2 separate regions of the Homo sapiens genome follow, and region 1 is linked to region 2. The links are contacts of gene promoters, found by promoter capture Hi-C in blood cells and fetal thymus (Javierre and others, 2016). All regions are on one chromosome and are shown on one strand. Each heading gives the region's core, a stretch centred on a gene start or on the middle of the fragment in contact. The rest is flanking DNA. Distances are from core to core; before and after follow the strand shown. Region 1 has its middle 120 kb from the start of CAV2-DT. Region 2 holds the start of CAV2 (caveolin 2).

What was found. Contacts are between HindIII fragments. The CHiCAGO score rates a contact against its expected background, and 5 or more counts as called.
Region 1: a fragment that was not itself captured here is called in contact with the fragment with the promoter of CAV2 in region 2 in 1 of 17 cell types (endothelial precursors); the score reaches 7.8 in endothelial precursors.

The regions. Positions count from the first base shown.
Region 1 is chr7:116,376,353-116,381,842 of GRCh38, forward strand. No RefSeq gene overlaps it. Among named protein-coding and RNA genes, the nearest start is that of CAV2-DT, 120 kb to the right of the region's middle. The HindIII fragment of the contact is 1,104 bases long and covers 2,761-3,864 here.
Region 2 is chr7:116,495,859-116,501,162 of GRCh38, forward strand. CAV2 (caveolin 2) reads left to right here and starts at 3,880. Exons shown (of 3, transcript NM_001233.5): 1 at 3,880-4,073; 2 at 4,402-4,589. The coding sequence starts at 3,924. CAV2-DT (CAV2 divergent transcript) reads right to left here and starts at 3,658. Exons shown (of 3, transcript NR_188012.1): 1 at 3,496-3,658. RefSeq lists enhancers at 2,895-3,396, 3,443-3,582 and a silencer at 3,763-3,852. The HindIII fragment of the contact is 7,148 bases long and covers 1-5,304 here.

The sequences.
Region 1 (5,490 bases), core at 2,063-4,562, 120 kb before region 2:
CAAAAGCAATGGCAACAAAACCCAAAATTGACAAATGGGATCTAATTAAACTAAAGAGCTTCTGCACAGCAAAAGAAACCACCATCAGAGTGAACAGGCAACCTAAAGAATGGGAGAAAATTTTTGCAACCTACTCATCTGACAAAGGGCTAATATCCAGAATCTACAATGAACTCAAACAAATTTACAAGAAAAAACAAACAACCCCATCAAAAAGTGGGTGAAGGATATGAACAGACACTTCTCAAAAGAAGACATTTATGCAGCCAAAAGACACATGAAAAAATGCTCATCATCACTGGCCATCAGAGAAATGCAAATCAAAACCACAATGAGATACCATCTCACACCAGTTAGAATGGCAATCATTAAAAAGTCAGGAAACAACAGGTGCTGGAGAGGATGTGGAGAAATAGGAACACTTTTACACTGTTGGTGGGACTGTAAACTAGTTCAACCAGTGTGGCGATTCCTCAGGGATCTAGAACTAGAAATACCATTTGACCCAGCCATCCCATTACTGGGTATATACCCAAAGGATTATAAAGCATGCTGCTATAAAGACACATGCACATGTATGTTTATTGCAGCACTATTCACAATAGCAAAGACTTGGAACCAACCCAAATGTCCAACAATGATAGACTGGATTAAGAAAATGTGGCACATATACACCATGAAATACTATGCAGCCATAAAAAACGATGAGTTCGTGTCCTTTGTAGGGACATGGATAAAGCTGGAAACCATCATTCTCAGCAAACTATCGCAAGGACAAAAAACCAAACACCGCATGTTCTCACTCATAGGTGGGAATTGAACAATGAGAACACATGGACACAGGAAGGGGAACATCACACACCAGGGCCTGTTGTGGGGTAGGGGGAGGGGGGAGGGATAGCATTAGGAGATATACCTAATGCTAAATGATGAGTTAATGGGTGCAGCACACCAACATGGCACATTTATACATATGTAACAAACCTGCACATTGTGCACATGTACCCTAAAACTTAAAGTATAATAATAATTAAAAAAAAGAAAATTTATTCCTGCACCTTAGCTTTGCATACCTCTCTATGTTGACAATTTCTGAATATTTATCTCAAGCCTAGATCTCTCTTTTGGGCTGCAAACTCATACATTAAACCACTGATGAATAACTCACTCTGTATGTAATATTGGCAAGTCAACTTTTACATATCCGACATTCAACTCATTACTTTCCTCTCCAAGGCTGCAGTTCTTCCTGTGTTCCCTGCTCAGTGAATGATACAACAGCCTGCCCATTGCTAAAGCCAAGAACCTAGACTCCTCTATCTTCCTCATATGGTTCCCTAGACTCCTCTATCTTACATACAGGGGCATCTCAATGGTGACAAGCTGGACAGGAGAACTGCTACCATTTGTAAAAACATGCAGGTGACATAGCATTTCCACTAAGCACCCTCCAGCTAGCAACTTCCATTTAATCCAAAACAAAGGACCTTAATCCCCCATAATAAGGGGGATTAAGGTTATCCCTGTATGTAAGTCCTCAGTAAACCCTACGTCTCATTCGCTGCTTCTAGGTCTTTTATTTGACCTCTCAGACATGGTGCCATTCCTACTGGAGTCAACAGGGGTTCAGCATGACAGTGGGTAAATTACAAAACACTCATGAATAAGAGCAGTGGCTAAGAGTTCCACATTATGGTGCTTCTCAAAGTAGCCAGGAAGTTGACATTCAAGAGAAAACTATTGTTTCAATACAATACAGATCTTTAATCAAAGGTATCCACAAAATTCCTCTGTCAACCACTGGAGAAAAGCATAATATCAGATTTAGGTAGAGATTAAGGAGATAAAAGCTTAAAGGTGAAGTATTCAGGAAGAAGAAAACAATTTTAATGTGGGGAAGGCATGTATATTAGTCAGGATTACCCAGAGAAAGGAAGGAAAGAGGGAAGGAGGGGAGGGGAAGGAAGGGGAGGGGAGGGGAAGTATAGATGGAGAGAGAGAGATTTATGATTTATATATAGATTTACTCTCATATAATTATGGAGGCTGAAAAGTTCACAGTCTGCCATCTGTAAACTGGAGAACAAAGAAAGCCAGAGGTATAATCCAGTCCAAGTTCAAAGGCCTGAGAACCAGAGGAGCCAATGGTGTAGATCTCAATCTGAGCACAGGATAAGATGAGATGGCATGTTTCAGCACAGCAGTGAGGCAAAAGAATAACAGGCGAATTTCTCCTTCCTCTGCCTTTTGTTCTGTTCAGGCCCTAAAAGGATGAGATTATACTCACCAACATTGGGGAGGACAATTTTCCTCACTCAGTCTACCAATTCAAATGCTCATCTCGTCCCGAAACACCCTTGCAGACACACTCAGAAACAGTGTTTTACCAGCTATCTGAGCATTCCTTAGCCCAGTCAAATTGACACATAAAATTAACCACACAGCATGAAAACAAAAGTGAAATCTCTCATTAGGGGAGAATGTGTGGAATCTTCTGCATCGGTGGGAAAATTATTGATCATAAATGGTTAGATCAACTTCCTCTTCTGAGCCTTCTGAAGAGAATGAGAGAATGGGAGAAAGTAGAAGAGTGATTGTATCTGGTGGTCTTCATCTTCCAAGTAATGTGTGCATATATATATATATATACACACACACACACATATGTATGTATACACACACATATATACACATATACTACATACTTATATATGAACACTAATTTTCTCATGAGTGTCTAGAAACCAGTCATGTGATTAAAGCTTGAATTACATAAACGCTTTAACTGAAAGATGAGGGAAGAAAAAAATTGTAGAAAAACAGAGGTTTCAACTTATGGAAAATCTTAATTAGCTACATGAACTAAAAAGTGAATAGGGAAAAACAGCATGAGTGGAATGGAACATATAGAAATTATATTATGTAACTTTTTACATTCAGAAAAAGTATTCTATTGCTGTTTATTGAACATGAAACTTCACAGTCCATGAATAAAAGTGTACCTTCTCTGGTGCAATATGAAAGAGCCATGAGGCCTCTCCTCCTGCCCATAATAATCAGTGGGTACATTTTCATTGATTATTTGTGCACTAAGAGCAATAAAGTAAGTTCTTAGATATAGCACTTCAAAACACACACACAAAAAACATATAAATTCTTTAACTAAACATGACAATAACTTTCTCATTTACACTCAATCACGTTATATTAGGTGAGCACTGTCATTCCATCAATCCATTAAAGGATGCAGCAATAATACCAATGCAGAATGGAATAGAGATACCAGGCAGGAGGCCTAGGAGAGCATCTGGGACAACTCTTTACATTATACAAACTGAATTTTTATCTTTTATTTTTTCTATTTTCTATCACAGCCAAATCTATACTGCATTTTATTCCCTTCAATGAGATAATAATAAAATCCGTAGGATTTTGAAACGTCACTAACATTTTTAAAATGTATCTGAAGCCCCAGAATCCTTATAAATAGGTACTTTGAGAGAGCCCAGGGACTACAAGCATTTTGGATTTATTTAATTGGCTTTCAGGTTTTCCTTCTAAATAAGTCAGCATTCAATTAGTCAATGGCAAGTTTTCACAATAGCTTAACTGGCAATATGAAGGCATCAACTTAAAACTCACTACAAGTTACAGCTATCTGCTTTTCCGAATTGTTATTTATCATCCTACCTACCATAGGTTCTTTTCAGTCACACTTCCTTCCACATTTACTAACTTAATGAGCTCAAGAAAATAAAAAAGAAATGAAGTTTCAAAAATCCCCTCTGACATTTCTTTGAGATTCTGAACTACATTTCATAGAGCCGGGACTCTGAGTAATCTAAAATAAGAGCTGGCAACAGAAGCTTGCCAGCTGTTGCACATTTACCAGCCCAGTTACATTTTTCCTCCCTCTGAGCTGCATAGTTATAAAGGGCCAGTATGAACCTTATTTGGATTAAAATTTGTACCATTCACACAACACAGTTTCTTTTAAAAGTTTGCATGTTCATTTTCTTTATTCAGTATTTATGCTGAAACTAGGTATCTATGATGTCCTGTCATATTTTTGTAACTATAAAATGCTACCATGTAACCCTGCAGAAAGAAAGTTTGACCTATTTGATTATCAGAATGAGACAAAATTTAATCTTTGTGGCAAAAAAAAAAATCCTATAAAGCAGCAGCTAATGGCACATTTGTACTTTTCCATTTTTATGTCAAGCTTCATTAAAAAAAAAATTGTAAAATATTGTAGGGGTGTAATGGGGTCCCTGAGACCATCCCTTGCTTGGAGATTCCCTAAAATGATCCATGGGAGCCAACATGTAGTTGTATAGTTGTACTCACAGCTAAGACTTATTAAGGGCAGTGTAGTGAGGATATACGGCACAGCATAAGGGAACCAGCACAGGCAAGTCCAGAGGAATCCACGTGCAGGCTCCCTACACTCACCCCTTCCCATGAGAGGTCACACTGAGCATCCTCTTCCACAGCAAACAAACGCAGCACCTGTGTGATGTTTCTGTCCAGAGGCCCACTAGAGACTCTGTACCTGTAACAGTCCTTTCTCACACTGCTATGAAGAAAATACCCAAGACTGGGTAATTTACAAAGGAAAGAGGTTTAATTAACTCACGGTTCCACATGGCTGGGAAGGCCTCAGGAAACTCAGAATCACGGTGGAAGGCAAGGGGAGGCAGACGTCTTCCTCACAAGGTGGCAAGGCAGAGAACTGCCCAGCGAAGTAGGGAAGAGCCCCTTATAAAATCAACAGGTCTCGTGAGAACTCACTCGATATCACAAGAGCAGCATGGGAGAAACTTCCCCCATGATTCAATGAAGTCCACCTGGTCTCTCCTTTGACACGTGGGGATTATGGGGATTACAATTGAAGATGAGCTTTAGGTGGGGACACAAAGCTTAACCATATCAGTACCCAAGGTTTTTATTCGGAGCTTGTCATGTAGACAGCCCCTGCTTACCATGTACCAAACTTCCAGACCACCAGAAGGAAAGCAGGTGTTTGGCATACACCACGCTGTGTTTCAGTCTAGGCACAGCAAACCAACTTTATCACTAAGAGAATTGGTGAGAACACCTCCAAATTCAAATTCTCAGACATCAGCCGCCTTGCAAGTAGGCTTTTTGGAGAATTGAAGTCTCAGACCTGCTAACTTAACGCCTTTCTTCCCAAAAGGACATTTGCAGTTTCTTCTAGTTTATAACACGCATCATTTAAATTTAGAGAGTAAGAAAAAATATTTCTAAATAGGTACTTTTTTCTAAATTGATATTTAAACAGTTAAAACATTTGATGATAATCTGGATGATATACATTTCACCTTCAAATGTAAAAAGAGGAAATTCTACCACAGAGGGACTGTTTTCTCATTGAAAAAGATCCTTCGAGAAAAGTATTTGCTTTTGCAGATAACTGAAGAAATTAGGCAGCATTTTCCAAATTTTCTTCTAGAATGCTGTAAGTTG
Region 2 (5,304 bases), core at 2,630-5,129:
AGAAAGGTGATTTTGCCCCCCAGAGGACATTTGGCAACATTTGGAAACATTTTGGTTGTCATGACTGGGAGTGTTATAGGTATCTAGTGGATAGATGCCAAGGATGTTGCTAAACATCCTACAATGCACTGGACAGTCTCTCAAGGAAAAATGATCTGGCCCAAAATGCCAACAGGGTTGAGATTGAGAAACTCTGGTCTAATCTGAACACTCTGAATATTATTAAAACATATGGTGAGATCAAGAATTTATTACTGCATTTTCGTTAATACCAATTTGCTCAAAGGCAGTTTGAAAAACAGACCCTGACTAAAATTGCATGTGCGTTATACAGGGAAAAAAATATGACACATTTGTGATTTGAAAAGGAAAAAAAGCTGAAGGGAAAAAATTAGATATTTTTATTCATAAGAGCATTGCCATACAATTTTCAATGCTCCAGAAAAATAACCTTCTTCCATTGACACTGTGCTGAAAGAAGTGAGTAACAAAATGGTTATAAACTATCCTTCTCACAAATTCTAATCTATTATCAGACTGTTATTTCTAAAATATATTAATACACCATCTAAAAAACAGCCCTCTTATCAGAAGCTATGATACATAATAAGTCAGAAGATAAATGCACCAGTAGGAATTTATTATAATTTTTTTAATTTCTCTGGATTACAGGGCACGTAAACTCTGTAGGAGGTGCTTATTGGAGAGTAATTCTGTGATCCAGAAGACACTAGAATGTGTTCAGCCATTTAGCACCCACCCACCCCCTTTCTTTTCCCTTTCCTGGTAAATTTTCCTTTATGTTCATAAGGACAGATGCCATTGCTGTGGGAATCACTCTGGTTTAAGCCTCTTGAGAAAAACAGTAGCTAACTATATTAGTCCGTTCTCACACTGCTATAAAGAAATACCTGAGACTGGGTAATCTATAAAGAAAAGAGGTTTAGTTGGCTCACAGTTCCACTAGCTGTACAGGAAGCATTATGATGGCATCTGCTCAGCTTCTGGGGAGGCCTCAGGAAACTTACAATCATGGCGGAAGGTAAACAGGGAGTATCACCTCACGTGGCCACAGAAGGAGCCAAAGAAAGGTGAGGGGGAGGTGCCACACACTTTTGAAGGACGAGATCTAATGAGAACTCACTCACTATACAGTACCAACTGCGGGGTCGGGGGGCAGGGGTGGCAGTGGGGGTGGTTGCTAAACCATTCCTAAGAACTCTGCCCCCATGATCTAATCTCTACCTCCCACCAAGCCCCACCTCCAACACTGGGGATTACAGTTCCACATGAGATTCGGGCAGGGACACAAATCCAAGCCATATCACTAACCTTATCTAAATACTGGCCAATAGGATAAGCAAAATCATTTTTATAGCTTCCTTCAAAAAATCTTATGTATTAAAATGTTGAAATGTATAAGAATTTCATCAAAATAAGAACCTCACCAGATCTGACCCAAGGGAGAGAAGATTGTTCAATAAAAAATTACAAATGGATGAATAAATGAATCCTCTCCTTTCAAGTTCTGTGCTCCATACAACAAATCTAGATGGGTCTCATTTAGATGGGATTTAGAGACACCTTTCTTAAATACCTATCATTTTACGAATGAAGCTGTTGTCTAAAGAGTCCTCTTGGCCACTTCCTGAAAACAAATCAATTATTTGTGATAACTCTCAAATGTCCTAATAATCCCATGGAAAATGTAAATGTAATGAGGACCAAGAATTATAAGGTAAGAAGTGCTAATGTCAGATTTTTACCCACTACATAAGCCCACTCTTGTACTAGGGCAGTGACTTTCTTCTTTGGGTGAGACCTTGAAATCTGGGATTATAATTTTGAATTATAATTATAAAATGGTATTTGGCTGTAAATTATCTCCTTTTTTTTTCTGTTCCTCACAGTTGATATTATGGATTCCCATAAGGATTCATGTCTTCTATTCACTTTAATGAACAGTTGTTGGGCAACAATTCTAGAAGAGTTCCAATTCTCATCAGGAGAATGGACAAGGTGGAGAAGCAGAGAAAATGCAATGAGTAGAATGTCTAAGTCATCACTTTGGAATTGACTGAACATAAATAAAAATGAGAAAGATACGTAAAAAAGAAGGGAATGGGTAAGCAGGGTGATGTCTGGGAGAGGAGGGGCTCCATAGCCATGAGAGTCAACTCTGTAACACCCTATAGGGTTACAACACTGCCCTTCATATACTGAGGTAGCAGCAGGGAAACTTTTTAATTATTAGAAATATTGAACTTTGCCTCCCACCCCCAAACATTTTTCTCATTCAGTTCCTGTTCTTTTTTATTTCTGTAATTTTTACTGTTTCAAAAATGATCTTTTTTCTTTCGGAAGAAGCAATTCTTCAAATCCAGTTCACATAAGGGGATTTGATATGTTCAACAAGCTCCAAATACACTGTATCCAGCAATACCTACTACATGCCTACTTTGAGCTCTGAGCAACCTGCACCTCAAGCCTAGTTCTCATTGTTTTGCTTTTGGCAAATTTTCACTAAGTGCCCTTCCTCCCCAAACACACGTATATGTCTACCAGACCCTAAAGCCCTTTATGAACATGCAAACTCCTCCCTTCTGAAAACCTTTGCGTGAGTGGTCAGCAGGCTAATTCATCCATTGCAATGTGGCTTTGTGTTAGGGTTCTGTTTCCGTGCTGCCTGCAAGATAATCACAGATGTGACTGCATCTTAGAAGTTCCTGAATCTTTCAAGACAGTCTGGTTCACAAGAAAATTAAAAGGTGGAGGTCGGGCGCGGTGGCTCACGCCTGCAATCCCAGCACTTTGGGAGGCCGAGGCGGGCGGATCACCTGAGGTTGGGAGTTCGAAACCAGCCTGACCAACATGGGGAAACCCCGTCTCTGCTAAAAATACAAAATTAGCCAGGCGTGGTGGTGCATGCCTGTAATCCCAGCTACTCGGGAGGCTGAGGCAGGAGAATCGCTTGAACCCGGGAGGCAGAGGTTGCGATGAGCCGAGATCGTGCCATTGCACTCCAGCCTGGGCAACAAGAGCGAAACTCTGCCACACACACACAAACACACACACACACACACACACGGTGTAGTTTAGGAAGTAAAAAAAAAAAAAAAAAAAAAATCAGATCTCCCCTCACACCTCAGATCTGAAGGCACAAACTCTAGGGCCAGGGCGTTCGCCTACCCAACTCCACATGCACTTGCAGGTCACCTAGCACTCAGGTACCTAGCACTCAGGTACATTGTGGCTCCTTACCTCTCACGACAGCAGCAACAACGTTGATTGGAAGTTTATCACTGTGTGTTACGGGCCATGGGCCATGTGTGTTAGAATTTTATGTGAAATTAACATTTAATTCTCACGGACACCCCTGAAACAGATGCCACAGCCCCCATTTTGCCAACGAGGCAGCTGAGGTTCCCAGAGGCTCAATACCAGCACCATGAGCCGCAGCACGCAAGGCAAACACAGCCGGAGGTGAGCACATACCTGCTTCGCACCCCATGCGCCTAACCACAAGGTTCCCTCCCTCCAGGAAGGCCGTTGTCTTCCCTGGGACGACTTGCCAGCTCTGAGGCATGACAGTACGGGCCCCCAGAAGGGTGACCAGGAGGCCCTCCTCGTCCCAGCTGCCGGCGTCGCCGCCCACTGCAGGGCCCGGGCTGTGACTCGTGGGGACGGTTCCCTGCGCCCCGGCGGGGGAGGTGGGCGGGGAGGGGCGGCGGGGCGCCGGGGCGGGGCTCGGGACGGCCGGGCTGGGAGCTGGAGCCCACAGCGGGAAGCGGCCGCCGCCCGGGCCTCGCAGGGCTAGGCGAGGCGAGGGGGGGCGGGGCCGGGCGCTACGGGAAGGGGAGGCCGCGCGGACCGGGAGCCGCACCGCGCCAGCCGGGCTGCAGCGGCCGCGCACCAAGGCTGCGATGGGGCTGGAGACGGAGAAGGCGGACGTACAGCTCTTCATGGACGACGACTCCTACAGCCACCACAGCGGCCTCGAGTACGCCGACCCCGAGAAGTTCGCGGACTCGGACCAGGACCGGGATCCCCACCGGCTCAACTCGCATCTCAAGGTGAAGCCCGGGGCGGGCGGGCCCAAGTCCCCGCTGAGGCCGGGAGGTGCGGGCGCCCCTCAGCCCCGCCCTAACCCGTCCCACCATTGCTACCGGGTCGGCCCCGCAGGGTCTGAGACCCGCACCCTTCCCCGGTCCCACCCGTCACCAGGCCGCCCGCGTAGCCAGGAATTCTTAGCCAGGTTCCTGTGCGCCCACCGTGACCCTAAGAGAAGAGGCGGACGCCCTGGCACGTCCTTCCCTCCTGCTTCCCCCGCCCAAAGCGCTCCCGGTTCCCGGGGCGTCAGGTTGGCTGACAGTTCGGGGTCCCTGCGTCCTGTCTCCTCAGCTGGGCTTCGAGGATGTGATCGCAGAGCCGGTGACTACGCACTCCTTTGACAAAGTGTGGATCTGCAGCCATGCCCTCTTTGAAATCAGCAAATACGTAATGTACAAGTTCCTGACGGTGTTCCTGGCCATTCCCCTGGCCTTCATTGCGGGAATTCTCTTTGCCACCCTCAGCTGTCTGCACATCTGGTGAGACGGGGCACACCGGGTGGACCGGCTTTCTGAAACATGGGCATATTCTCCGCCACCTGCCCCCTACTCTCCTCTTATCCCAGGCCGGCGTCAGGAGGAGGAACGCGCATCAGTTCCCAAGCAGTAGGAAGAACTGGAAGGCCTTGAAAGGCAATGCGCTTCCTTTAGAATAACAGTTTGGGCTTGGAGTTTCAACAGGAGAAAGAATGTCGGTCTTTCCTGGGGTGTGATTTTCCTTGCATACATAAGGCTGGGCTGAGTGTGGAGGCGGGTACCTGGAAGCCACACTTCTTACCACAGGCTGCTCTCGGGGCCCTGTTGTGACTCGTACCTGCGGTTCTGGGCAGGACTCTTCTTTCTTTCATTGCCTTTTATTCAGTCACTGCCTGTGCTTGGGGTAAAACAAAAGTGATCTCTGAGCAGAATGCCGCTGACAGTAGAATTGGATGAGGATGTCAGACCTGGTTAAGCAGTAGTGTGGAGGGGCTGCTTCAACTTTGCCCCTGGCAGATGGCAAGGATGGGACCCAGAGGAAAGGGAGGTGTGTGCAGTTAAGGCGAGGGTCCCCCCCAGTACAAACGAATGAAAACTCCAGCTGCGGGATAATGAATGAGAAGGCCTCCAAATTACTTTTTCACTGATGAAACACAAATGGAAGTGGCATATAATTAAAGGGGAAAGAAATATGGAAGCCCACTGTATATTGATAGGA